7 separate regions of the Homo sapiens genome follow, and all the other regions are linked to region 1. The links are contacts of gene promoters, found by promoter capture Hi-C in blood cells and fetal thymus (Javierre and others, 2016). All regions are on one chromosome and are shown on one strand. The core of a region is centred on a gene start or on the middle of the fragment in contact, and the rest is flanking DNA. Distances in the headings are between cores, read along the strand shown.

Region 1 (3,399 bases), core at 335-2,834:
AGAGCGAGACTTCATAAAAAAAATGGTAATGAATATAATAACTATCAAGAAAATAAAGTATTTATAAACCATAATGAAAATGTAGGCTGGAGGCCGAGTGCTCTGGCTCACCCTATAATCCCAGCACTTTGGGAGGCTGAGACAGGCGGGTCGTTTGAGCCCAGGACTTTGAGACCAGCCTGGGCAACATAAGGAGACCCTGTCTCTACAAAAAAATTAAAAATTAACTGGGTGTGGTGGTGTACACCTGTAGTCCCAGGTACTCAGGAGACTGAAGTGGGAGGATTATTTGAGCTCGGAAGGTTGAGGCCACGTTGAGCTGTGATTGTGCCACTGCACTCCAGTCTGGGTAACAGAATGAGATGAAAGAAAGAAGGAATGAAGGAAGGAAGGAAGGAAGGGAGTGAGGGAGGGAGGGAGGAAGAGAAAATGTGAATGGATGAATCTCATAAAAATAATGCACAAAAAAACAGATACAAGTGTGTATGTGAGAAAACATTTTAAATGGTCCATTTCTGAGGCATGATAAATCTAAGTACTGGCAGCCAGCCTGCAAATATAACAAACTGCAGGGCTCATCCACCTAGAAGGTCACAATAAGGGAACAGAATGTAGAGGCGGGGTCAGCCCATAAAAGGGAAGAAAGTGGCCGGCGCAGTGGCTCACGCCTGTAATCCCAGCACTTTGGGAGGCCGAGGCAGGCGGATCACGAGGTCAAGAGATCGAGACCATCCTGGCCAACATGGTGAAACCTCGTCTCTACTAAAAATACAAAAATTACGCAGGTGAGTGTGTTTCTCACATAGATAAAGTTCAGAATACAAACCAAACTAAACTACAGCATTAGGAATGCACCCTTAGGTGGTAAAATGAAAAGAAAAACAAGAAAGTGATTACCATAAGTATCAGCATAGTTGTTACTTCTGCGTAGAAAGGAAAGGATAGTGATAAGAAGAAGAGGAAGGGTTCTGGGATGCTGGAAATATTCCACTTCTTGGACTGTGTGGTAGTTAAACGGATGTTCACTTTGTGATAAATCATTCAGCTGTATATTTATGTTTTGTTTACTTTTCTGCATGTTATATTGCACAAATAAGATTCGAAAAACAAATGTCCAAGGTAGTCAATGCAATGTTAAAGATAACACGAAAAGACTGTAATTACAAAGCTTTGGTAGCTAGGACGATCCGTATGGATGAAGACAGGCAAAGGAATGAATGAAAAACAATTTAAAAATCCAGAAAAGACCATGAATCTAAAATATCTTGATATATAATAGAGGTGGCACATAATCACTGGAGAACAAAGAGAAACACCCTAGGACAGAACCTTGAGAACGCCTACAAGAAGCGATCTTGTAAGCGTTCCTCATAAACATCAAACTGGTTGAAATGTCCCCCGCCCTTCGTCGTTGGGATGTTTCAGATGCGTTGGCGCTTCCCGGCCTCGAGGGGGCATCTGGAGAACGGCGGGCGCCGGGAAAGTACGCATGCGCACTGCTCCCAGGGTTTGCGGTAAGAATCTATGCTCTCGCGCCCGGTTACGCACACTGCATTTACAGCGCGCATAGCGCCCACGCACGCGCACTGGGGTGTCCGCCGGGCATCGCTCTGTCCAGTTATTCCAGTTTCTCTGGGAGCAGCCGAGTTGACCCCACGGTCTGAGATGTCCAAGCTGCCCGCAGACAGCAGTGTCCCGCAGACAGGCGCGGCGAATGGTGACAGAGACGTCCCGCAGGCGGAGGTAGGCCGCGGGAGGCGGGAGCCGGCCCCGGCACAGCCTGAGGAGGCCGGGGAAGGCGCGATGGCGGCGGCCAGGGGAGGCCCGGTGCCGGCGGCCAGGGAAGGTCGGATGGCGGCGGCCAGGGCAGCCCCGGCGGCGGCAGCCAGGGGAGCCCCGGTGGCAGCGGCGGCGTTGGCCAGGGCAGCCGCGGCGGGCAGGGAAAGCCCGGCGGCGGCGGCGGCCAGGGAAGCCCGGATGGCGGAGGTCGCCCGCTTGCTGGGGGAGCCAGTGGACGAAGAGGGTCCCGAGGGCAGGCCCAGGTCCAGACACGGGAACGGAGGCCTGGCTGCGTTGCCCTATCTCCGTCTCCGCCACCCACTTAGCGTTTTAGGCATCAATTACCAGCAGTTTCTCCGCCACTATCTGGAAAATTACCCGATTGCTCCCGGCAGAATACAAGAGCTTGAAGAACGCCGCAGGCGATTCGTGGAAGCCTGCAGAGCAAGGGAAGCAGCGTTTGATGCCGAATATCAGCGAAATCCTCACAGGGTGGACCTCGATATTTTAACCTTTACGATAGCTCTGACTGCCTCTGAAGTTATCAACCCTCTGATAGAAGAACTTGGTTGCGATAAGTTTATCAATAGAGAATAGTTATGTGGTGACACTACTTCAAGAGAACCTCTGCATTCCAGTCATACCAATCCTGCAACTTGATTTTCAGAAGTCAAGAGTATATCGCGATAAGACAGTGCACAGGTGGAGGGGAAAAAAAGGGGGAGGGGGAAGCTTATCTTGAAAAAGCATCACAGAAGTAGAAAAAAATGTCGAAAGCATTATAACTGTAACGTTCTTTGAGTTTGTGATTGATCCACATTTTTCCCCCTGCATTATGGAAAATGTCTCTCAGCATTGCTTTATTACAAAGTAAAGGATGGTTTTATAAAATTGAGACTGATGAAACATCAATACTAGAGCCCATGAGGATGAAAGAAATTATCAAATAGTGCTGAACAGAATAAGATGTTAACGCTGAGTTATTAGGACTGGAAGGCTATGAAAAGAACTTGAAATTGTCGGAATATGTGCTCTCTTCATGTCATATTCAATAGAAGTTTCTAGTTTAAGATTGATTTTGTGTTTTCTTAGGCATTTCAAGTGACAAGCAAAGTAAATGTATATATTATGTGATAAATCATGTTTTCAAGAACGTCAAATTTCTGGACTTTTTTCTTTCAATTTTTAATTTTTAAAGTTTTTTTGGTATTAAAAAATCTATTCACAAGCCAAAAAATATATAAAATATACAGCGAAAAGCCTTCCATTCTTGTTTTCCTCCATCCAGTACCAACGATGACCTCTAATAGCCACAGTTTCCTTTCCGTCCTTCTAGTTTCCTTACGTGTACACAGGCACATATAAATCTGGGTTTACTTGTTTTATTTCTTCACAGAAGTCGGCATATTATATTTACTGGTTTATACATTGCTTTCTCATTAAGAACATATGTTGACCCTTCCAAACCACTGTATTTCCTCATTATTTTTTAAAGTGGCATTTTATTCCATTCTGAGGTTATGTCCAAATTTACTTAACCAGGGATATATTGACGGACATTTAGGTTGTTTCCCATCTCTTTCTTTGGGCAGAATAAAAAATTGCTAGAGTAGTTCATCT
Region 2 (3,399 bases), core at 240-2,739, 470 kb after region 1:
GGTTCAGAGGAGTGAGCTCACTTACCTGACATCACACTGTCAGTAAGAAGAATAGCTAAGCCAGGTGCGGTGGCTCATGCCTGTAATCCCAGCACTTTGGGAGGCCAAGGCGGGTGGATCGCCTGAGGTCAGGAGTTCGAGACCAGCCTGGCCAACATGGTGAAACTCTGTCTCTACTAAAAATACAAAAATTAGCCAGGCATAGTGATGGACGCCTGTGTTCCCAGCTACTCAGGAAGCTGAGACAAGAGAATCTCTTGAACCTGGGATGTGGAAGTTGCAGTAAGCTGAGATTGCACCATTGCACTCCAGCCTGGGCAACAGAGCAAGACTCTGTGTCAAAAAACAAACAAACAAACAAACAAAAAACCTGAGATTCATTCCTTTCTGCACACTTGGCCTTAACCACCAGGCCCCACTGTCTCCGATTCATCCCTCTGCCATCTCATCCTGGATTTCAGGCCTCAGGTCCTGTGTCATCTCCCAGCATGGTTTTGTTTTTGTCTTTTTTTCTTTTCTTTTTTTTTTTTTTAAGATGAAGTTTTGCTCTTGTTGCCCAGGCTGGAGTGCAATGGCGCAATGTTGGCTCACTGCAATCTCCGCCTCCGGGGTTCAAGCAATTCTCCTGCCTCAGCCTCCTGAGTAGCTGGGATTACAGGCATGCACCACCACGCCCAGCTAATTTTGCATTTTTAGTCAAGACGGAGTTTCTCCATGTTGGTCAGGCTGGTCTCGAAGTCCCGACCTCAGGTGATCCACCTGTCTTGGCCTCTCAAAGTGCTAGGATTACAGGCGTTAGCCACCCTTCCTGGCCATGTATTTTGTTTTTTAAGACAGGGTCTCATTCTGTTGCCTAGGCTGCAGTGCAGTGTCATGATCATAGCTCACTGCAGCCTCGAACTCCTGGACTCAAGTGATCTTCCCACTTCAACCTCCCTAGTAGCTGAGACTACAGTTTCACACCACCTCACCCACCTGATTTTTAAAAATTTTTTGTAGACACAGTCTCGCCTTGCTGACCAGGCTGGTCTCAAACTCCTGGGCTGAAGCGATCCACCTGCCTTGGACTCCCAGCGTGCTGGGATTATAGGCGTGAGCCACTGCACGTGGCCTCCAAGCATCACTGTATCATCAGGTGGACATAACAGTTCCATAAAATCCGGAATTGAGGCCAGGGACAGACTAAACCCTCAAACAAACATGAGCTCTTATAAATATTGGCCCAACTATTTATTTATTTTTATTTTATTATTATTTTTTTTTTTTTGACAGAGTCTTGCTCTGTCGCCTAGGCTGGAGCACAGTGGTGTGATCTTGGCTCACTGCAACCTCTGCTACTTGGGTTCAAGTGATTCTCCTGCCTCAGCCTTCCAAGTAGCTGGGAATACAGGCACATGACACCATGCCTGGATAATTTTTGTTTTTTGTTTTTTGAGACGGAGTCTCACTCTGTTGCCCAGGCTGGAGTGCAGTGGCGCGATTACGGCTCACTGCAAGCTCCACCTCCCGGGTTCATGCCATTCTGCTGCCTCAGCCTCCCAAGTAGCTGGGCCTACAGGTGCCCGCCACCATGCCCGGCTAATTTTTTTTTGTATTTTTTAGTAGAGACGGGGTTTCACCTTGTTAGCCAGGATGGTCTCGATCTCCTGACCTCGTGAACCACCTGCCTCGGCCTCCCAAAGTGCTGGGATTACAGGCGTGAGCCACTGCACCCGGACTTTTTTTTTTTTTTTTTTTAGTAGAGACAGGGTTTTACCATGTTGGCCAGGCTGCTCTTGAACTCCTGACCTCAAATGATCTGCCCACCTCGGCCTCCCAAAGTGCTGGGATTACAGGTGTGAGCCACCATGCCTGGCCCCAACTATTTATTGTACCATTGTTGGGTACACCATTTTCCACTGTAGTCACATTGAGGAGTGTTGGAAGATTTTAAAGTCCTACGGGGGTGTGCTCGGGAGGCTGAGGTGAGAGGATCACTTGATCCCAGGAGACTGCAGTGAGCTGTGATCATGCCACTGCACTCCAGCCTGGGCAACGGAGCAAGACCCTGTCCCCCCCAAAAAATTGCCTTAAAAAATATCTTATTAGGCTGGACGCAGTGGCTCACGCCTGTAATCCCAGCACTTTGGGAGGCCGAGGCGGGCCGATCGCTTGAGCCCAGGAGTTTGAGACCAGCCTGGCCAACATGGCTAAACCTCGTCTCTACAAAAAATACAAAAATTAGCCAGGTGTGGTGGTGTGTGCCCGTGGTCCCAGCTATTCAGAAAGCTGAGATGGGAGGATCACTTGAGCCTGGGAGGGAGGCAGAGGTTGCAGTGAGCCAAGATCTCACCACTGCACTCCAGCCTTGGTAGATCCTGTCTGTAAATAAATAAATAAAAACCCACTGGAGAGCAAGGCTCATCCTTCTGTGTGAGGAAAGGGCAGCCTGGCCCCTGCTGTGTGAAGGATGAGCTGGGTCATATCAAGATCAAATCTGGTGTGATCTTCCCTGAGGGTCTACACTAATCCTTCCTCGTGAGTTCAGTGGGTGAGAACAGGAGTTGAGTCCTAGAGGGCACATGACTCACCACCAACTGGGGGATCTGTCAGGGCTGAAGCGTGGGTCACGCTGTGCATGGTCAGCAGGAGTGTGGTCAGCTCTGTGTATCCTACCTCCAGGAACACCCCAGCCCTCCACAGGCTCTCAGGCGTGGGCCCAGCAGCACAGTTACTAGAGGGAAACGAGTATACCCCTGGGTCCATGGCAGGTCACTCAGGGAGAACAGGCTCTCTGCCATGGTCCATGGCAGGTCTCGCAGGGAGAACAGGCTCTCTGCCATGGTCAAGGCAAGTCAAGTATAGACAGGAATGTGAGCCGGGTGTGGTGGCTCCCAGCACTTTGGGAGGCTGAGGTGGGAGGATCTCTTGAGCCCAGGAGTTCAAGAGCAGCTTGGGTGATGTAGTGAGACCCTGTCTCTGGTTAAAAAGAAAGGAAGAATGTGGTTCATGTTCACCCAGCCATACTCTCCTCAACTTAAAAAACAAAACAAAGGCCGGGTGCAGTGGCTCAAGCTGCAATCTCAGCACTTTGGGAGGCCACAGTGCAAGGTGGGCAGATTGCTTGAGCTCAGGAGTTCGAGATCAGCCTGGGTGACACGGTGAAACCCCGTCTCTACAAAAAAATACAAAAACTAGCCAGGTGTGGTGGTGTGCACCTGTCATCCCAGCTACTTGGGAGGCTGAGGTGGGACGATCATTTGAGCCCAGGAGGTCAAGGCTGCAGTGAGCTGAGATCATTATACCACTGCACTCCAGCGTGGGCAACAGAGTGAGACACTGTCTCAAAAAAAACCAAAAAACAAAAAAAACAGTACAATGGCAGTTGGCATGCTGGCGATGATTGCCCCCACATTGGCC
Region 3 (3,399 bases), core at 1-2,500, 460 kb before region 1:
AAAGGAAGGCCTGGGATAGGTCACTGGACAATTCAGGAAAAGCAAAGCAATGTTTCCATTTCCTAAAAACAAAAACATTTTATGCATTTATTTAAAGATTTACTTAAAGATATAGACCAGAGAGTTGCAATTTATGTGACAAATAATTTAGTCTTTTTAGATTGAATCAAATGAACTTCTTCAAAGGGAAAAATGCAAATGAAAGCTACAGAAAGTACCTGGGGATGTGATTTTTGTGACTGTGAGCAATGAGGTGACAGGCTCTGTGGTAGATTGTGGCTGTGCTTGACATAGCAGTGTGGTACCACGCCGTATGACTGGGTGCAGGCAAGGCTGTGTGAGGATTAGAATGTGTGATTTCCATTTTATGAATAAAAAGGAAATATAAACTTACCTGGACCTGAACTTTTAGACCTGCTACAACAATTGTTCCCTCCTTTTCAGGATCCCTGTTTTGATGAATAGCAGAATGGGGGAAGAAAAATAATCATGAGACAGCAGGCCTTTCTTAAGAGCACAGACCGACCTAGAATATCCCCTCCAGCGCCACATCTGTGCTGACCTCACGCACATAACAGCTGTGTGAGAGTGAGGCTGGGATCTGTCTCTGAACTCACACCAGGTTTCTAGATCAAAGGTATGGGAATGCAGTGGTTCTGAAACATGCAGCTGCCCACACAGCGGCTCCAACTGCGCAGTCTTCCAACCTGTCGTCCCAGGAGTCTGTTTTAGGGACACTTCTAATTCAAAAGTCCAATCGCCAACCCAGGTCTGTACCTTCTTGCTGGGAACCTTCATCCCAGAGCTCGATATTTGACTTCCCTCTTGGGGACACTGCTGTGTGCAAACACCGAGGCCGTGAGGAGGGTAGAGGGTCAGTGACACACACCAGAGAGCCAGGCACCTGTCTCAGCCTCACACCCGCACCCACACCCGCCCAACCCGGTCCTGACAGGCGCCCCGTCGCGCGCACACACACACATACACCGTCTGCCACATTTTGTCACACAATTTCCCTTCTCCGCTCCCCAAGCACGCACAGGCCTGAGGCTCCCTGCGGGCACGACACGCCAGGTCTGGGCCCTGGAGCGCCTCACTTTGGGCGGCAGTTCTATCCCCAGTCCTACTCGTAAGAGTCCCGTTCCGCCTCACCTAGCTCGGACTTCTCGCCCGCAAGTGAATAATAACGGTTAAGGTGACTGAACCGTTAAGAACGCAATGTAAAGGGCCCTTGGGGTCCAGGCAACACTGCCCAAGGGGCTTCTGGGAAATGTAGTCCACAGCCGGAAACTGATCCTTTTGGGCGGAGGCGCAGGCGCGCGCGCATCCGGCGGGTTCGACTCACTTACCAGGAACCCACGCAGGAAGCTGAGGAGGAGAACAGACGCCTCTGGGCCACTGGCCGGGCCACTTGAGCGTGGGACCGCCGAGTGTGACCCTGAGGCCGAGTGCGTGCGGGACTGGGCGATAGCTCCGCCAGGCAGGATTTTGTTTGTTTCACCTCTTGAGGTAGTCCCGGCGTGTAGTACATAATAGGCGCTTAATATGTGTATTGTAAAGAATGAGTGCCTGGCCATTTGTATTTGCCTTGTGAGCGCGTGTGTGTGGCACTGTGAGGGTTGCGGGACCGACGGAACCTCTCTGGCTCTGGCGGGTTGTGTTTCCGCGTGTGTGTAATTTGAGTGTGAGTCAGTGTGTAGTGAGTGAAGGGATCTGACTGGAGAAAACCACAGTAAATACCCGGGGCTGTGATTTTTGTGACTTTGGTCAATGGGACGACAGGCTCTGTGGTAGACTGGCTGTGCTTGACGTAACAATGTGGTACTATGCCGTGTGGTTGCCGGCAAGGCTATGTGAAGATGAGAATGTGTGATTTGGAAAATCTGGATGTGGAACATCACGGGTGCCAGTGGAATTGTGACTCTGTGTGTGTATAAAAGTTTGCAACCATAGGCCTATATGTCTGTGGGATAAAGAGAATATGTTGCGTCTTCTTGGAGTATCAGCTTTATTTAAACATTTGCATCAGAGAGTTGCGATTTATGTGCCAAAGATTTTTGTCTTTTTATATTGAATTAAATGAATTTTTTACAAAGAGAAAAATGAAAATAATAGTAACTTTCAAAAAATATTAAGAATTTCCTTCCACTCTTATATTCTGGCAATGGATCTTTGGCAATGGGTCTTTGGCAGATCAATTTGAAAAGCTTGGACTGAGGAAATTATACTTGGAAAGCACATTAGGCAGTCAGCCCTTGGTTCCTAAATACCATGCTCCACTGAAAGGAGCAAGGCTCCATGGAGAAATGGCAGATTCCAGAGCTGGGGAAGGGAAAGTTCAGAATGAACTTGGAACATCTTGTGCTTGAAAGTAAGGCAGTGCTCAAAGAATGGTGGGGACGTGTTCAAAGGACATGGAAACCAGATTGAAGGGACTTCCACTGACCAAACTTGACATGGTTTGAGCATCAAAATAAATAATGCTAGTTATAGATTAAAACCCATTAAATAACAGAGGGAATCATAATTCCAAACTGATATAAATTAGTACGTGAAAAAAAATTGAAAGTTTGATGAGGGACTGGATGTTTACATTGTTGCAAAGAACCCCTGCCCCCCCCCAAATCCCTTAAAAATGTGTCAATATAAGGCTGGGCACGGTGGCTTATGCCTATAATCCCAGCACTTTGGGAGGCCGAGGTGGGCGGATCGTGAGGTCAGGAGTTTGAGACCAGCCTGACCAACGTGGTGAAACCCTGTCTCTACTAAAAAAATACAAAAATTAGCTGGGTGTGGTGGTGCGTGGTGGGTCCTGTAATCCCAGCCACTCAGGAGGCTGAGGCAGGAGAATTGCTTGAACCCAGGAGGCGAAGGTTGCAGTGAGCCTAGATCGCGCCACTGCACTCCAGCCTGGGTGACAGAGTGAGACTCCATCTTTAAAAAAAAAAAAAAAAAGTGTCCATATGAAAAAATGCTCAACATTACTAATCATCAGAGAAATGCAAATTAAAACCACACTGAGATACCACCTCACAGTGTTAGAATAGCTGTAATCAAAGAGACAAAAGACGACAAGGGTTGGTGAGGGTATGGATATAAGGGAACACTTGTACACTATTTGTGGAAATGTAAATTAGTACAAACATAGAAAATATCCGGAGTTTTCTCAAATTAAAAATATAACCACTATATGACCCAGTCATCCCACTATATATATCTGTATATATCTGTATATATCCGTATCAGTCCATTCTTGCATTGCTATAAAGAAAACCCGAGACTCGGTAACTTATAAGAAAAGATGTTGAATTGGCTCACAGTTCTGCAGGCTGTACGGGAAGCATAGTGGCATCTGCTTTTGAGCAGGCCTCAGGAAGTTTCCAATCATGGTGGAAGGCA
Region 4 (3,399 bases), core at 345-2,844, 430 kb after region 1:
TCCCCCGCAGATGTGCAGAATCCATGGAGCCAGAGCTTAAGCCTCTTCATTCCTGAAGCCCCGTGGGCACCTCGCCCGATCAGAGCTATGCAGGAGGGTGGGGCCCTGCCAGCAGAAACCTGCCGTGTGTCACTCTGTGCCCGCACACCTGCCCTCCCTCCACAGCCAGCCAGGACTCCCACCTCTCCAGGAGGGAACAGCTGCCCCAGCTCCATAGGGCTGCATGTACCCTACATGGGGCCTCTGGAGGGCAGGGGAGTCAGGGCCCACCCAACTCCCCACCCAGGCCTGGGCAGTTTCTGGTCACAGCAGCCAAGGCGGCAAAACCTAGGCTTCTGGAGGAGAGCTGCCGCCATCCCTAGAGGTACATCCTCCGGCCAAACAGGGGTCTCACCACCCAGACATCATCTACGATCTTCCCATCCTGTGAGGGACAAAAACAGGGACAGTAGTTAGAGCTGAAAGCCTGAACTCTGGGGCCACATGGCCTGGGTTCCAGTCCCCTCTCTGCCCTCTGATGGGCTGTACAACCCTGAGCAAGTGGCTAGGCCTCTCTGGGCCTCAGTTTTCCTCATCTGAAAAGTGATAGGAAGAGTAACAGTACCCACATCATAGATGTTGTGGGAGTTAAATGAGATAGTATTTGTAAACAGAGCCCAGCATATGGAAAGGGCTATGTAAGTGTAGGCTATTATTAGAGCACAAACTCTGGAGTCAGACAGACCTTGCTTTATATTCCAGCACATCCACTCTTTCTCTCTCTCTCCTTTTTTTTTTTTTTTTTTTTTTTTAGACAGAGTCTTGCTCTGTCACCCAGGCTGGAGTGCAGTGGCAACCTCCGCTTCCCAGGTTCAAGCCATTCTCCTGCCCCAGCCTCCCAAGTAGCTGGGATTACAGGCATGCACCACCATGCCTGGCTAATTTTTGTATTTTTACTAGAGACAAGGTTTCACCATGTTGGCCAGGCTGGTCTCGAACTCCTGACCTCAAGTGATCCGCCTGCCTCAGCCTCCCAAAGGCATGAGCTGCTGCACCTGGCCAGCGCATCCACCCTCTAGGTGGCCTTAAGCATGTTGCTGGACTCTCTGAGCAAAACTTCCATGTTCTATGCAATGCACAAAGTAATAGATGCCCAGAGTCATCATGAGAACAGAGTGAGATCATGCACACAAAAGTCTGCGCCCGGTGCATGTGCCACTCGATAAATGGTAGCTATCAGATCCCAGCTTGGCCGTCCTCCAACTGTGTGACCCTGGGAAAATTACTTCCCCTCTCTGAGCCTCAGTTCCCTCACCTATAAAATGGAGAGGAAATCCACTCCTGTGGGATTGTTTTGGTGTATAAAGTGCTACTGGGGCCGCATGCGGTGGCTCATGCCTGTAATCCCAGCACTTTGGGAGGCCCAGGTGGGTGGATCACCTGAGGTCAGGAGTTCAAGACCAGCCTGGCTAACATGGTGAAACCCCATCTCTACTAAAAATACAAAAAATTAGCCGGGTGTGGTGGCATGTGCCTGTAATCCCAGCTACTCGGGAGGCTGAGGCAGGAGAATTGCTTGAACCTGGGAGGTGGAGGTTGCAGTGAGCTTAGATTGCACCACTGCACTCTAGCCTGGGCGACAGGGTGAAACTCTGTCTCAAAAACAAATAAATAAATAAAGTGCTACTAAATGCAGAGCATCTAGGCAGTGCCTGGTATGCAGTAGGTGCTCAATAAATCATAAATATTGTCATTATTTTAAAACTACAATGGCAAAAATAAAGAAAGGTGAGCCATTATTATTTGGATCCACCTAACCTTAAGCCACCTGTACCACATACTCATCTTATTGTTTTCCCCTACCTGTGTCCCACCCCCCATCTTTATCTTCCCCTGCCTCACAATGGTAAATACCTACAGAATTTACCAAGTTCCGCACTCTTCTAAGCATTTTATATATAATAAGTCCTTCAACCCCCATGTAGTCCTGTGAGGTGGAAACTATGATTATCCCCTCTCACAGATGGGAAAACTGAGGCAAAGAAGTTAGATAAGTGGGCCCAGCACAGTGGCTCACACCTGTAATCCCAGCACTTTGGGAGGTTGAGGCAGGCAGATCACCTGATGTCAGGAGTTCGAGACCATTCTGGCCAACACAGTGAAACCCTGTCTCTACTAAAAATACAAAAAATTAGCCGGGTGTGGTGGTGGGCGCCTGTGATCCCAGCTACTCGGGAGGCTGAGGTAGGAGAATTGCCTGAACCTGGGAGGTGGCGGTTGCAGTAAACCAAGACTGCACCACTGCATTCCAGCCTGGGTGACAGAGCGAGACTCCATCTCAAAAAAAAAAAAAAAAAATTAGATGAGTGACTCAAGGTCACTCAGCTGGTAAGCAGCAGGAGCAGGTTTCTAGTTCTACAGTCCACATTTGTTCGTTTTTTTGTTTTGAGTTAGGGTCTCACTCTGTTGCCAAGGCTGGAGTACAGAGGCGAGATCATAGCTCACTGCAAACTCTAACTCCTGCACTCAAGTGATCCTCCTGCCTCAGCCTCCCAAGTAGCTGGGACTACAGACATCTGCCACCACACTTGACTAATTTTCCTTTTTTTTCCAAGACAGAGTCTCACTCTGTCTCCCAGGCTGGAGGGCAGTGGTGCCATCTTGGGTCACTGCAAACTTCACCTCCCAGATTTAAGTGATTCTCCTGCCTCAACCTCCCTTGTAGCTGGGATTACAGGCACCCGCCACCATGGCCAGCTCATTTTTGTATTTTTAGTAGAGACGGGGTTTCACCATGTTGGCCAGGCTGGTCTCTAACTCCTGACTTCAAGTGATCTGCCCACCTCAGCCTCCCAAAGTGCTGGGATTTCAGGTATGAACCACCGCACCTGGCCTAATTTTTTTTTTTTTTTTTTTTTTGAGACAGAGTCTTGCTCAGTCGCCCAGGCTGGAGTGGTGCGATCTCGGCTCACTGCAAGCTCTGCCTCCCGGGTTCACGCCATTCTCCTGCCTCAGCCTCCCGAGTAGCTGGGACTATAGGCACCTGCCACCACGCCTGGCTAATTTTTTTTGTATTTTTAGTAGAGAAGGGGTTTCACCATGTTAGCCAGGATGGTCTCGATCTCCTGACCTTGTGATCCGCCTGCCTCGGCTTCCCAAAGTGCTGGAATTACAGGCATGAGCCACCGTGCCTGGCCATTTTTTGTATTTTTTGTAGAGACTAGGTCTCACCATGGTACCCAGGCTGGTCTTGAACTCCTGGACTCAAGCGATCCTCATACCTTAGCCCCACCAAATTGCAGGTGTTGCAGGCATGAGCCACTGCGCCCGGCCGAGCCCACGTTTTTAACAGCTCATTTGCTTGGAGGGGCCTGGCTGTACAGTCAGGTGACTTCGGCCTGCCCCTCACTGACCTGGTCG
Region 5 (3,399 bases), core at 402-2,901, 340 kb after region 1:
GATGGCGCACACCTATAATCCTAGCTACTCAGGAGGCTGAGGCAGGAGAATTGCATGAACCTGGGAGGCAGAGGTTGCAGTGAGCTGAGATTGCGTCACTGCACTCCAGTCTGGGCAACAGAGTGAGACTTCATCTTAAAAACAAAAACCAAAAACCAATAATAGCTGCTATTGACTGGTGCTAGCCAGACCTGGCCGGGCCCTATGCTGTGTGTTTTACAAGCATTCTCTCTTATGCTAACCCTGTTTACAGAGCAGGAAATGGAGGTCCAGAGAGGCCAAGTCAGTTTCTCCAGGTCTCACAGTGAGGAAGGGTGGAGCAGGGAATGGAGTGTAAGCCACACTGGCCCTGGCGACTCACCTTTGGTTCTGCTGGAGCTTTTCAGTTCTAATGTACCAGCCACGGAAATTGCCTGCAGGTTGGGGAGCAAAGGGTTAGGACACCCCAACGCTGGAGGACCCTCCCCACCCTCAGCAACCTGGCCCTCCAAGCACTTACCCAGAGTTTCCAGGGGTCGCTGGGTGGGACCAGTAGGGGGTGCTGGCTCATAAATGTTGATGCCTGAAATGGACAGGTGAGTGGAGCCTCTGGGCAGCCCCTCCATCTTCCACCGCCTCACCCCTCCCTACCCGCAGGGCTATACACTGGAAGGGCAGGAATCTGTGCCAGGTCAGGGAAGCCCGGCAGGGATGAGTGAGTCAGGGCTCTGGGCTGGGGAGAGGGCAATGCCAGGGGTAAGTGGGGTGTGGTGAGACAGACAGAGACAGAGGGACAGAGAGAAGAACCCAGAGAAAGAGACAGGCCAAGAGTTTGAAACCAGCCCAGCCTGGCCAACATGACGAAACCCTGTGTCTACTAAAAATACAAAAATTAGCCAGGCATGGTGGTGCATGCCTGTAATCCCAGCTACTCGGGAGACTGAGGCAGGAGAATTGCCTGAGCCTGGGAGGCGGAGGTTGCAGTGAGCTGAGATTGCACCACTGCATTCCAGCCTGGGCGACAGCAAGACTCCGTCTCAAGAGACAGAAACATAGGCAGAGGGGGAGAGAGAGAGGAGGAGAGAGAAAGAGAGATGGAGAGGTGTGAGGGAGAGGTGTGAGAGAGGTAGGTAAGAGACATGACAGAGAGACAGGTGGTAAAATGGAGAGGCACAATGACAGAAAAAGAGACAGAGGGATGCAGAGAAATGCATAGACAGAGAGAGACAAAGAGGTAGAGAGATAAGGAAACAGGGAAAGAGGAAGAGACAGACGGTCAGGGTGGTGCCTCCTGGCTGCTCTGGGCCCTTGCGCACCTTCGGGGTTGGGCGAGCGCAGCAGGTTGCGGTAGAGCGGCCGCCGCAACAGGAGCAGCTTCCAGGTGAGGCGCTGGGGCAGCTCCAGGCCCCCGCTCAGCGGCCCCCACTCCTCCAGCAGCAGCTGCCGGGCGTGAGCCTCGGACGGCTGCGCCGGCTCGGGGAGCTCGGGGGCCTCCGGGGCTGCGGGCGATGGCAGCGACGGCGGCGAGGGCAGTGGTGGCGGCGACGGCGGCGGTGAAGGCGACCGTGGCGAGGGAGGCAGCTCCTGGAGGCTCGCGGGCCCATCGGCTTCCATCCCGCCACCGAGCGCGTGTCCCTCACGCACCTCCTCCATCCCTCGAGGCTGCGCGACTGTCCCGGTTTCACAGGGCTGGGGTTAACTGGGAGCGGGAAGGGGCAGGGCACCCTGGCTGACATTTAAGAGAGGGGCGTGTCGGGGGAGGATCTTGTCCCTCGGACCCTCCTCCCTCAGACCCAGGAGTCCAGGCCCCTAGCCCCTCCTCCCTCAGACCCAGGAATTCAAGACCCCAGCCCCTCCTCCCTCAGACCCAGGAGTCCAGGCCCCTAGCCCCTCCTCCCTCAGACCCAGGAATTCAAGACCCCAGCCCCTCCTCCCTCAGACCCAGGAGTCCAGGCACCAGCCCCTCTTCCCGCAGACCCAGGAATCCAGGCCCCCAGTCCGTCCTCCCTCAGATCCAGGAGTCCAGGCACCAGCCCCTCCTTCTTCAGACCCAGAAGTCCAGGCACCAGCCCCCTCCTTAGGTCCCCAGACTTCCTGCCCCAATTTTCCCAGGGCCAGCTGAGGACCCAGCGTGAGCCTGACAGAGCGTGTGACTAATGTGCTAATGCCAGGGCTCCGGGCTGTCTAATGGGACCCGTGCACCTCATTAAGATCCAGCATGGCAGGATTAAGAGGCTAATTAACGAAGACCCCCCTCCTCCCCCTCCCCACTCTGCAGAGGGGGAGTGGATGGATGAGCTGAGGTGCAAAGGGAAGGTCCTGCCTCTGCCACTTCCTTCTCTGTCCTCACCTGGGACACCCCCTTGGGGCCCTGACACATACTGTCCAGAAAACCAAGGTGAGGAGAGCAGAGAGACACCCAAAACCAGAGATGAGGAGCCTCAGAGATGGGGGACCCCAGGGAGGCACAAAGATGGCAGTGAGAGGGAAGCAGTGATCCCAACTGGGTGTTCTGGGGGCCTGCACCCCTGCCTGGGACTGGGGTGGGGGGCTGCAGAAGCCTCCCCCATCAGAGGTCACGAGGAGGTGGGAGCAAGGGACGGGGCACAGGTGGGGACAGGAGGTCAGGTGTGGAGGAAGTGGGGTGGCAGAGGAACCTGTAGCGCCAGATTCCCACAGCCACTTCCTGCCCGTGGCCACATCCCTCTACCTGGCCCAGGTAAGCTCAGCACTGAGCGCTTGCTTCTCTCTCTCTCTCTCTCTCTGATGGAGTCTCACTCTGTCACCCAGGCTGAAGTGCAGAAGCACGATCTCAGCTCACTGCAACCTCCGCCTCCCGGGTTGAAGTGATTCTCCTGCCTCAGCCTCCCGAGTAGCTGGGATTACAGGCATGTGCCACCACACCCAGCTAATTTTGTAGTTTTAGAAGAGACGAGGTTTCACCCTCTTGATCAGACTGGTCTCAAACTCCTGACCTCAAGTGATCCACCTGCCTTGGCCTCCCAAAGTGCTGGGATTACAGGCGTGAGTGCTTTCTACTGAGCGCCTCTAAGTTCATTTCATTCTCCTACAAAGACAAGGTGGGTGCTACTATGACTGGCATTTTATAGGTAAAGGAAAAGTAACAGCAAACATGTGTGTGCAGCTGTGTGCTGGCGGATGCCCTCTGGGACGGGTCTTTCCAATACAACAACCCTGTGAGGGGTGCCATGGAAACAGAAGCTGCCTTCCCAGGCTGGGTCCCATATAGTCCCAGATAACTCCACATGCTTTCACAGGCACTTCCTGCCCCAACGCTCAGACACTCACAGACACTCAGCGGGTGGGGGACAGAAGTCACGCCCCAGTGATAATGATCATGTAATTGAGGCTGCCCTCATGCCAGGCATTGCACTAAGTCCATTAGTTGCAATGGACTTA
Region 6 (3,399 bases), core at 497-2,996, 320 kb after region 1:
AGCCGACCTTTTCAGCTTCCAGTGTTGGCCTGCGTTCCTTGGCTCGTGGCCTCCTCCATCTTCAAATAACATCTCTCCAACCTCTGCTTCCATCCTCACCTTGCCTCCTCCTCTGTAGCCAAATCTTCCTCTGCCTCCCTCTTCTAGGGAGCCTAGTGATTCCATTTAGGGTCCACCCAGATCTTCCAGGACAACCTCTGATTGAACGATCCTGAACTCAATCACGTCTGTGAAGTTTCTTTTGCCAAATAAGGTCACCCACAGGTTCCGGGATATCTTGAAAGCCATTATCAGTGACCACACCCCCCTTCTTTCTACTGTACCCAGATTGTAGAAAGGCTGGATTCCACTTTTTCCTGGACATCTATGTCCTCTCTGACTCTGTCATCCCTTCAATGTGCTTCTTATTCCTTCAATCTGTGACATGGCCTCAATATCTGTTCTTCCTTCAGTAATAGGAAATTTGATTTGTGACCAGGCATACAGCTAACCCAAGGCCAGATCTTTTTTTTTTTTTTTTTTTTTTTTGAGATGGAGTCTCGCACTGTCGCCCGGGCTAGAGTGCAGTGGTGCGATCTCAGCTCACTGCAACCTCTGCCTCCTGGGTTCAAACAATTCTTCTGCCTCAGCCTCCTGAGTAGCTGGGATTACAGGCACCTGCCACCATGCCCAGCTAATTTTTTGTATTTTTAGTAGAGATGGGGTTTCACCACTTTGGCCAGGCTGGTCTTGAACTCCTAACCTCGTAATCCGCCTGCCTCGGCCTCCCAAAGTGCTGGGATTACAGGTGTGAGCCACTGCGCCTGGCCTAGATCCATCTTTTTGAGGCATTGAGTGCCCATCTCTAGCTAAGTTCTGGCAGCAAGATGTAGACAGGAGTGTCATGTACCATGCTCCTGGAAGAGCATTTCCTTCTTCTTCCCTCCCTCCCTTCCTCCACATGTTGACTGGGATGTAGATGGGAAGGATGGAGCTCAAGCAGCCATATTGGGCCACAAGAAAAAGCCACATTTGATGCTGGAGCAACAAGACAGAAGGAGCCTGGGCCCTGACACTGGAGCCCCAGACAGCCTTGGTAGCTGTCTCCCTTCATATGAAAGACAAGAATACTCCTCATTTGTAAAACAAAATACTAATTTTTGGGCAGAATAACAGCCCCCCGAGGTGTCCTCAGAACTAGCGAATATATTATGTTACACAGCAAGGAAGAGTTAAGGTTGCAGATGGAATTAAAGTCACTAATCATTATTTTATTTTATTTTTTTGAGACAGTCTCACTCTGTCACCCAGGTTGGAGTGCAGCGGTGTGACCTTGGCTCACTACAGCCTCTGTCTCCCGGGCTCAAGCGATTCTCATGCCTCAGCCTCCTGAGTAGCTGGGACTACAGGTGCATGCCACCACGTCCAGCTAATTTTTTGTATTCTTAGTAGAGATGGGGTTTCACCATATTGGCCAGGCTGGTCTCAAACTCCTGACCTCAAGTGATCTGCCCGCCTCGGCTTCCCAAAGTGCTGGGATTACAGGCATAAGCCACCACGCATGTCCCATTGATTTTAAAATAAGGAAATTGGGCATGGTGGCACGTGCCTGTAATCCCAGCTACTTGGGAGGCTGGCTGAGGCAGGAGAATTTCTTGAACCTGGAAGGCTGAGGTTGCAGTGAGCTGAGATCATGCCACTGCACTCCAGCCTGGGCGACAGAGCAACACTCCATCTCAAAAAAAAAGAAAAGAAAAGAAATTGACTATGCAACCAGGCTCAGTGTATCCTGGAGCTGAGTGGCTAAAAACATGGACTCTAGGCTGGGTGCGGTGGTTCATGCCTGTAGTCCCAGCACTTTGGGAGGCTGAGGCTGGAGGATCACTTGAGCCCAGGAGTTTGAGACCAGCCTGGGCAACATAGCAAGATTCTGTTTCTACAAAAATATGCAAAAATTAGCCAGGTGTGGTGGTGCATACCTGTAGTCCCGGCTACTCAGGCAGCTGAGGCAGGAGGATTGCTTGAGCCTGGGTAATCAAGACTGCAGTGAGTGGTGATCACACCACTGCCCTCCAGCCTGGGCAACAGAGTAAGACTCCGTGTCTTTAAAACAAAAAACAACAACAACAAAGGAAATTATCCTGGATTATGTGGGTAGGACCAGAGTAATTGTAAGGATCCCTTAAAGTGGAAGAGCAGGCAGCAGAAAAGGACAGAGTCATAGAGGGATTTAAAGATTCTCTGTTGCTGACTTCAACAAGGAAGGGGCCACAAGCTAAGGAATGCAAGTGGCCTCTAGAATCTGGAAAATGCAAGAAACAGGATTCTCCCCTGGAGCCTCCAGAAGGAAGGCAGCCCGATGACACCTTGATTTTAGCCAAAGGAGACTCATTTTGGACTTCCAACCTCCAGGACTGTGAGATAATGAATCTGTGTTGTTGTAAAGCACTGTTTGCAATCATTTGTTACGGCAGCAATAGGAAACTGATTCATAATTAATCCAAACTTCTTGCTTGAATCTTTCTCTGACTCTAAAGCTCCTGATTAATAAGAATAATAATAATCACACTTTGGGAAGTTGAGGCAGGTGGATCACCTAACATCAGGAGCTCGGGACCACCTTGGCCAATATAGGGAAACCCCATCTCTATTTTAAAAAATACAAAAATTAGCCAGGTGTGGTAGTGCACACCTATAATTTCAGCTACTCAGGAGGCTGAGGCAGGAGAATTGCTTGAACCCGGGAGGTGGAGGTTGCAGTGAGGTGAGATCGCGCCACCGCACTCCAGCCTGGGCAACAGAGTGTGACTCTGTCTCAAAATAAATAAATAAATTAAATAATAATCAAAACCATCATCCATGTCAGTAAACACACTGAGCACTTTCCATGTGCCTGAAATAACCTCAACCCACTATACTTTTTGCTTATGTAAGACACACAACAATCCCACAAAAAAAGTGTAAAGCCTTAAATACAAATGTGGGAAAAGGAACGAGGCTGAAAATAAGCCAGCTAACCATCTATCTTAAATGTGAGGAAAAGAACAGCACGCAAAACTCAAAGAAAAGGGCCAGGCATGGTGGCTCATGCCTGTAATCCCAGCACTTTGGGAGGCCAAGGTGGGTGGATCACTTGAAGTCAGGAGTTCAAGACCAGCCTGGGCAACATGGTGAAACCCCATCTCTACTAAAACTACAAAAAATTAGCTGGGCATGGTGGCACATGCCTGTAGTCCCAGCTACTTGGGAGGCTGAGGCAGGAGAATCCCTTGAACTTGGGAGGCGGAGGTTGCAGTGAGCTGAGATCGCACCACTGCACTCCAGCTTGGATGACAGAGCGAGACCCCGTTTCAAAAACAAACAAACAAACAAACAAACAAAAAACTCAAAGGAAAAAAGAATAAAGAAAGCAAGCATGAA
Region 7 (3,399 bases), core at 629-3,128, 270 kb after region 1:
CTTTGGAAGATGCTACTTTTAGCGTTGTTATGGCAGCAACACAAAGGAAATACACACCAACAGACACACAGTCCAACGTCATGAGTGTCTTTTCCTTTGTTTATTTCAACAAGGGTTATAAAAAGTAGAAAAATAAACATTTTCCTGGAGGTGAGTTGGATTTACACACACAAATACATAAATAGCGACTGGGTGGCAATAAATTAAGACAAGTGGCTAATTTATAAATAAAATCTCAGGTTGCATGACTGGTGGGAGGGTCAGACACACAGGTCCCCACTGGCAACACAATTCAGGTCTCGCGTGAGGAGGCGGAAGAGGTTGAAGGTGACAGAGGCCTCGAGGCAGCCAGGGGACTCCTGTAGGGAGGAGGGGATGGGTCAGGGGCTGTCTGGGTTCTGGGCTCCCAGTGGCTCCCCAGACCTCAGTCCCTCTCTTCCCGGGTCACTCACCTTTTTTGGGGCCTCCTGGAGCCGGTACAGCCAATGGTGGAGGCGGCCCCGGGTCCTGGGCCCTGCCGTGGGCTGAGGCTGGATCTGTGGGCAGAGGAGGGCGGTGTGTGAGCCGGGGCCTTGGCAAGGGGAAGGACGCTGCTCAGAGCTCACAGACCTGGGTGCCCAGGCCCCAACGACTCACACAGGCCCGGAACTGGGAGAGGATATGGTGCAGGGTGTGAAGGGGCTGGTCCAAGACGTCCACCAGGGCTGGGTCAGTGTCAGCGGTGGCCTCCAGAACCTTCAGCGTCAGGGCCAGCTCAGCCTCCAAAGCCATGGGGCGCTCCCTCACCTGAGGAGAGGTGAGAAAGAGCAGGTGAGGGGGGAGGTGAGGGGAACAGGTTGGGGAGCAGGATAGAGAGGAACAAGTGAAGGTGACAGGCACAGGGGAGAGGGCACAGCCAGTGTGGTCAGGTGGGAGCGGAGGGAAGGGAGAGCAGGTGTGAGGAGAAGAGAGAGAGACAAGGGAGAAAGAGACGGTGAAGGGGCCACTACAGAGCCAGGTGAGTGGGGCTGGGAGAGCAGGGGTGGGCCTGACTCCCCCTCTCACCTGCAGCTGCCTCAGGTCCCAGGTCCTGGGGAAGAGGCGGGAGTGGCACCTGCAGTCCTTCAGCAGAAGCGACTCTTCCTAGACAGCAAAGGCACAGGTTAGCCCCAGCAGGAGGGGTGGAGGTTAGACCATCCTGGTGGGATTGGAGGATGGCTGACAACAGGATAGGGGAGGTTAACTGCTGGGAGGATGGTAGAGGACCCTCTTCTACAGGAAAACATGAGTCAGTCCCTACAGTAGGAGCATGAGATAGCCCACTGCAGGGAGGGTGGAGGCTAGCCCAGTGAAGGAAGCTGGGAGTGGGAAAGCATGGTGACGCTTGGAGTGGGGGTGGAGGCTAGTCCATGGCAGGAGGGCAGGGGGAGACTCACTAAGGCATCTTTGGCCCTCTTAAAGGCCTGCAGCTCCTGTGGAGACAGGGACTTGAACTGGGCTATGTGGCAGCCCCTTGCATCCGGGAGAGCCCCGTGGAGCCTGGCGACAGGAACTGCTCCAGTCACGGTCAGCACTGCGGCCATCAGCACCAGCACTGGCGTGCAGTCCCCAGTCATGTCTGTGTCACAGAGAGAAAGGGAGCTGAGGGGATGGAGAGGCTGCCCACTGAGGGCAGGGGCTGCAGGAGCTGAGCACGGACAGAGATGTGGGACTCACCTAGTTTCATTCCTGATCTCTGGTCTTTGTCAGCAGAAGAAACACTCTGAGGCTGTCACCCAGGGTCTGTTTGGGTCTTGTCTGGAGTCTCTGTTCTTTTCAGTCCCCTCTTCTGGATCTCAGACTGTGTCCTGGCTTTGACTCTTTCTGTCAGTTTTGAGCTCTGTCTGGGATGTAATTCCTGCCTGAGCTCCATGGGGCAGCTTTTATCCCTGACAGAAGGGCAGTCCCAGCTGATGTAGGAAAAGTGAAAACACAGCCTCAGGTAAGACACCGGCCACCAGGGGAGCCCCAGGCTGGGAAAGCCCAGAGCAGGGCAGGGCTAGTGAGCCAGATGAGCAGCTGGAGGGAAAGAGAAACTGATGGAGACTCAGGGGTAACCTACAGGAAGGTATGTTCCCAGGAGGATTCCACCTGCTCTGGTTTTGTTGTTGTTTAAGACAGGGTCTCACTCTGTCACTGGAGTGCAATGGCATGATCACAGCTCACTGCAGCCTCAAACTCCTGGGCTCAAGCCATCCTCCTCACCCAGCCTATTAAAGTGCTGAGATTACAGGCCTGAGCCACCCCTCCTGGCATATATATATATATATATTTTGAGACAGGGTCTTGTTCGGTCACCCAGGCTGGAGTGCAGTGCAAAATCTTGACTAACTGCAACCTCCACCTCCTGGGTTCAAGCGATTCTCTTGCCTTAGCCTCCCAAGTAGCTGAGATTACAGATTTGTGCCACCATTCCCAGCTAATTTTTATGGTTTTAGTAGAGATGACAGTTCACCAATTGGCCAGGCTGGTCTCGAACTCTTGACGTCAAGTGATCTGTCTGTCTTGGCCTCCCAAATTGCTGGGGTTGCAGGCATGAGCCACTGTGCCCAGAGGCCATGATTTCTTTCTTTCTTTCTTTTTTCTTTTTTTTTTGAGATGGAGTCTTGCTCTGTAGCCCAGGCTGGAGTGCAGCAGCGTGATCTCGACTCACTGCAACCTCCACCTCCTTGGTTCAAGGGATTCTTCTGCTTCAGCCTCCCGAGTAGAAAGGACTATAGGCATGCACCACCACGCCCAACTAATTTTTGTATTTTTAGTAGAGACGGGGTTTTGCCATATTGGCCAGGTTGGTCTTGAACTCCTGACCTCGTGATCTGCCTTCTTCGGCCTCCCAAAGTTCTGGGATTATAGGCGTGAGCCACCGCGCCCGGCCAGAGGCATATATGTGTGTGTATATATATATATATATATATATATAGAGAGAGAGAGAGAGAGAGAGAGAGAGAGAGAGCATGAGAGAGAGTGAGTGAGCAAGAGAGATGGAGTCTCGCTCTGTTGCCCAGGCTGGAGTGCAGAGGCACCATCTCAGCTCACTGCAACCTCTGCCTCCTGGGTTCAAGTGATTCTCCTGCCTCAGCCTCTTGAGTAGCTTGGATTACAGGCATGTGCCACCATGCCCAGCTAATTTCTGTATTTTTAGTAGAGACAGGGTTTCACCATGCTGGCCAGGCTAGTCTTGAACTCCTGACCTCATGATCCACCTTCCTCGTCCTCCCAAAGTGCTGGGATTACAGGCATGAGCCTCTGAGCCCAGCCAAGGCCAATATTTCTTAATTGCCCAGGCAAGGAAGGACTCAGGAATATGAGGCTCTGCTCAAGAACTGAGGTGTGACGAAGGACTTGAAGGACACCACGTGGGTGCCGTCTTTCTTAGGGAAG

What was found. The method cuts DNA at HindIII sites, captures the fragments that hold promoters and counts their contacts. A CHiCAGO score of 5 or more calls a contact.
Region 2: a contact is called between a fragment that was not itself captured here and the fragment with the promoter of EID2 in region 1, in 2 of 17 cell types (naive CD8 T cells and total CD8 T cells). The highest score is 8.5, in naive CD8 T cells.
Region 3: a contact is called between the fragment with the promoter of ZNF546 here and the fragment with the promoter of EID2 in region 1, in 3 of 17 cell types (total CD8 T cells, erythroblasts and endothelial precursors). The highest score is 5.5, in total CD8 T cells.
Region 4: a contact is called between a fragment that was not itself captured here and the fragment with the promoter of EID2 in region 1, in 11 of 17 cell types (neutrophils, naive B cells, total B cells and 8 more). The highest score is 16.0, in neutrophils.
Region 5: a contact is called between the fragment with the promoter of NCCRP1 here and the fragment with the promoter of EID2 in region 1, in 5 of 17 cell types (M2 macrophages, monocytes, M0 macrophages and 2 more). The highest score is 7.5, in M2 macrophages.
Region 6: a contact is called between a fragment that was not itself captured here and the fragment with the promoter of EID2 in region 1, in 2 of 17 cell types (M2 macrophages and neutrophils). The highest score is 8.1, in M2 macrophages.
Region 7: the fragment with the promoter of IFNL2 here is called in contact with the fragment with the promoter of EID2 in region 1 in 10 of 17 cell types (neutrophils, total B cells, M2 macrophages and 7 more); the score reaches 23.6 in neutrophils.

Annotation. Positions count from the first base shown.
Region 1 is chr19:39,538,346-39,541,744 of GRCh38, reverse strand. EID2 (EP300 interacting inhibitor of differentiation 2) reads left to right here and starts at 1,584. Exons shown (of 1, transcript NM_153232.4): 1 at 1,584-3,038. The coding sequence starts at 1,666. The coding sequence ends at 2,376. RefSeq lists an enhancer at 1,329-1,828 and a silencer at 1,800-1,879. The HindIII fragment of the contact is 1,343 bases long and covers 1,171-2,513 here.
Region 2 is chr19:39,070,225-39,073,623 of GRCh38, reverse strand. No RefSeq gene overlaps it. Among named protein-coding and RNA genes, the nearest start is that of ACP7, 12 kb to the left of the region's middle. RefSeq lists an enhancer at 1-177. The HindIII fragment of the contact is 4,805 bases long and covers 1-3,399 here.
Region 3 is chr19:39,994,911-39,998,309 of GRCh38, reverse strand. It overlaps ZNF546 (zinc finger protein 546), which reads right to left and starts at 1,250. Exons shown (of 7, transcript NM_178544.5): 1 at 1,153-1,250; 2 at 395-449; 3 at 1-62. RefSeq lists a silencer at 216-315 and enhancers at 1,134-1,428, 1,101-1,600, 1,436-1,615, 1,601-2,102. The HindIII fragment of the contact is 5,081 bases long and covers 1-2,209 here.
Region 4 is chr19:39,107,078-39,110,476 of GRCh38, reverse strand. It overlaps ACP7 (acid phosphatase 7, tartrate resistant (putative)), which reads right to left. Exons shown (of 13, transcript NM_001004318.3): 12 at 3,393-3,399; 13 at 1-424. The coding sequence ends at 359. Among named protein-coding and RNA genes, the nearest start is that of PAK4, 17 kb to the left of the region's middle. RefSeq lists an enhancer at 1-43. The HindIII fragment of the contact is 5,363 bases long and covers 1-3,399 here.
Region 5 is chr19:39,195,216-39,198,614 of GRCh38, reverse strand. It overlaps NCCRP1 (NCCRP1, F-box associated domain containing), which reads right to left and starts at 1,651. Exons shown (of 6, transcript NM_001001414.2): 1 at 1,296-1,651; 2 at 500-562; 3 at 362-413. The coding sequence starts at 1,632. The HindIII fragment of the contact is 37,818 bases long and covers 1-3,399 here.
Region 6 is chr19:39,214,119-39,217,517 of GRCh38, reverse strand. No RefSeq gene overlaps it. Among named protein-coding and RNA genes, the nearest start is that of SYCN, 12 kb to the right of the region's middle. The HindIII fragment of the contact is 6,255 bases long and covers 1-3,399 here.
Region 7 is chr19:39,266,875-39,270,273 of GRCh38, reverse strand. IFNL2 (interferon lambda 2) reads right to left here and starts at 1,878. Exons shown (of 6, transcript NM_172138.2): 1 at 1,696-1,878; 2 at 1,416-1,597; 3 at 1,045-1,122; 4 at 637-786; 5 at 453-536; 6 at 86-359. The coding sequence starts at 1,705. The coding sequence ends at 261. The HindIII fragment of the contact is 23,103 bases long and covers 1-3,399 here.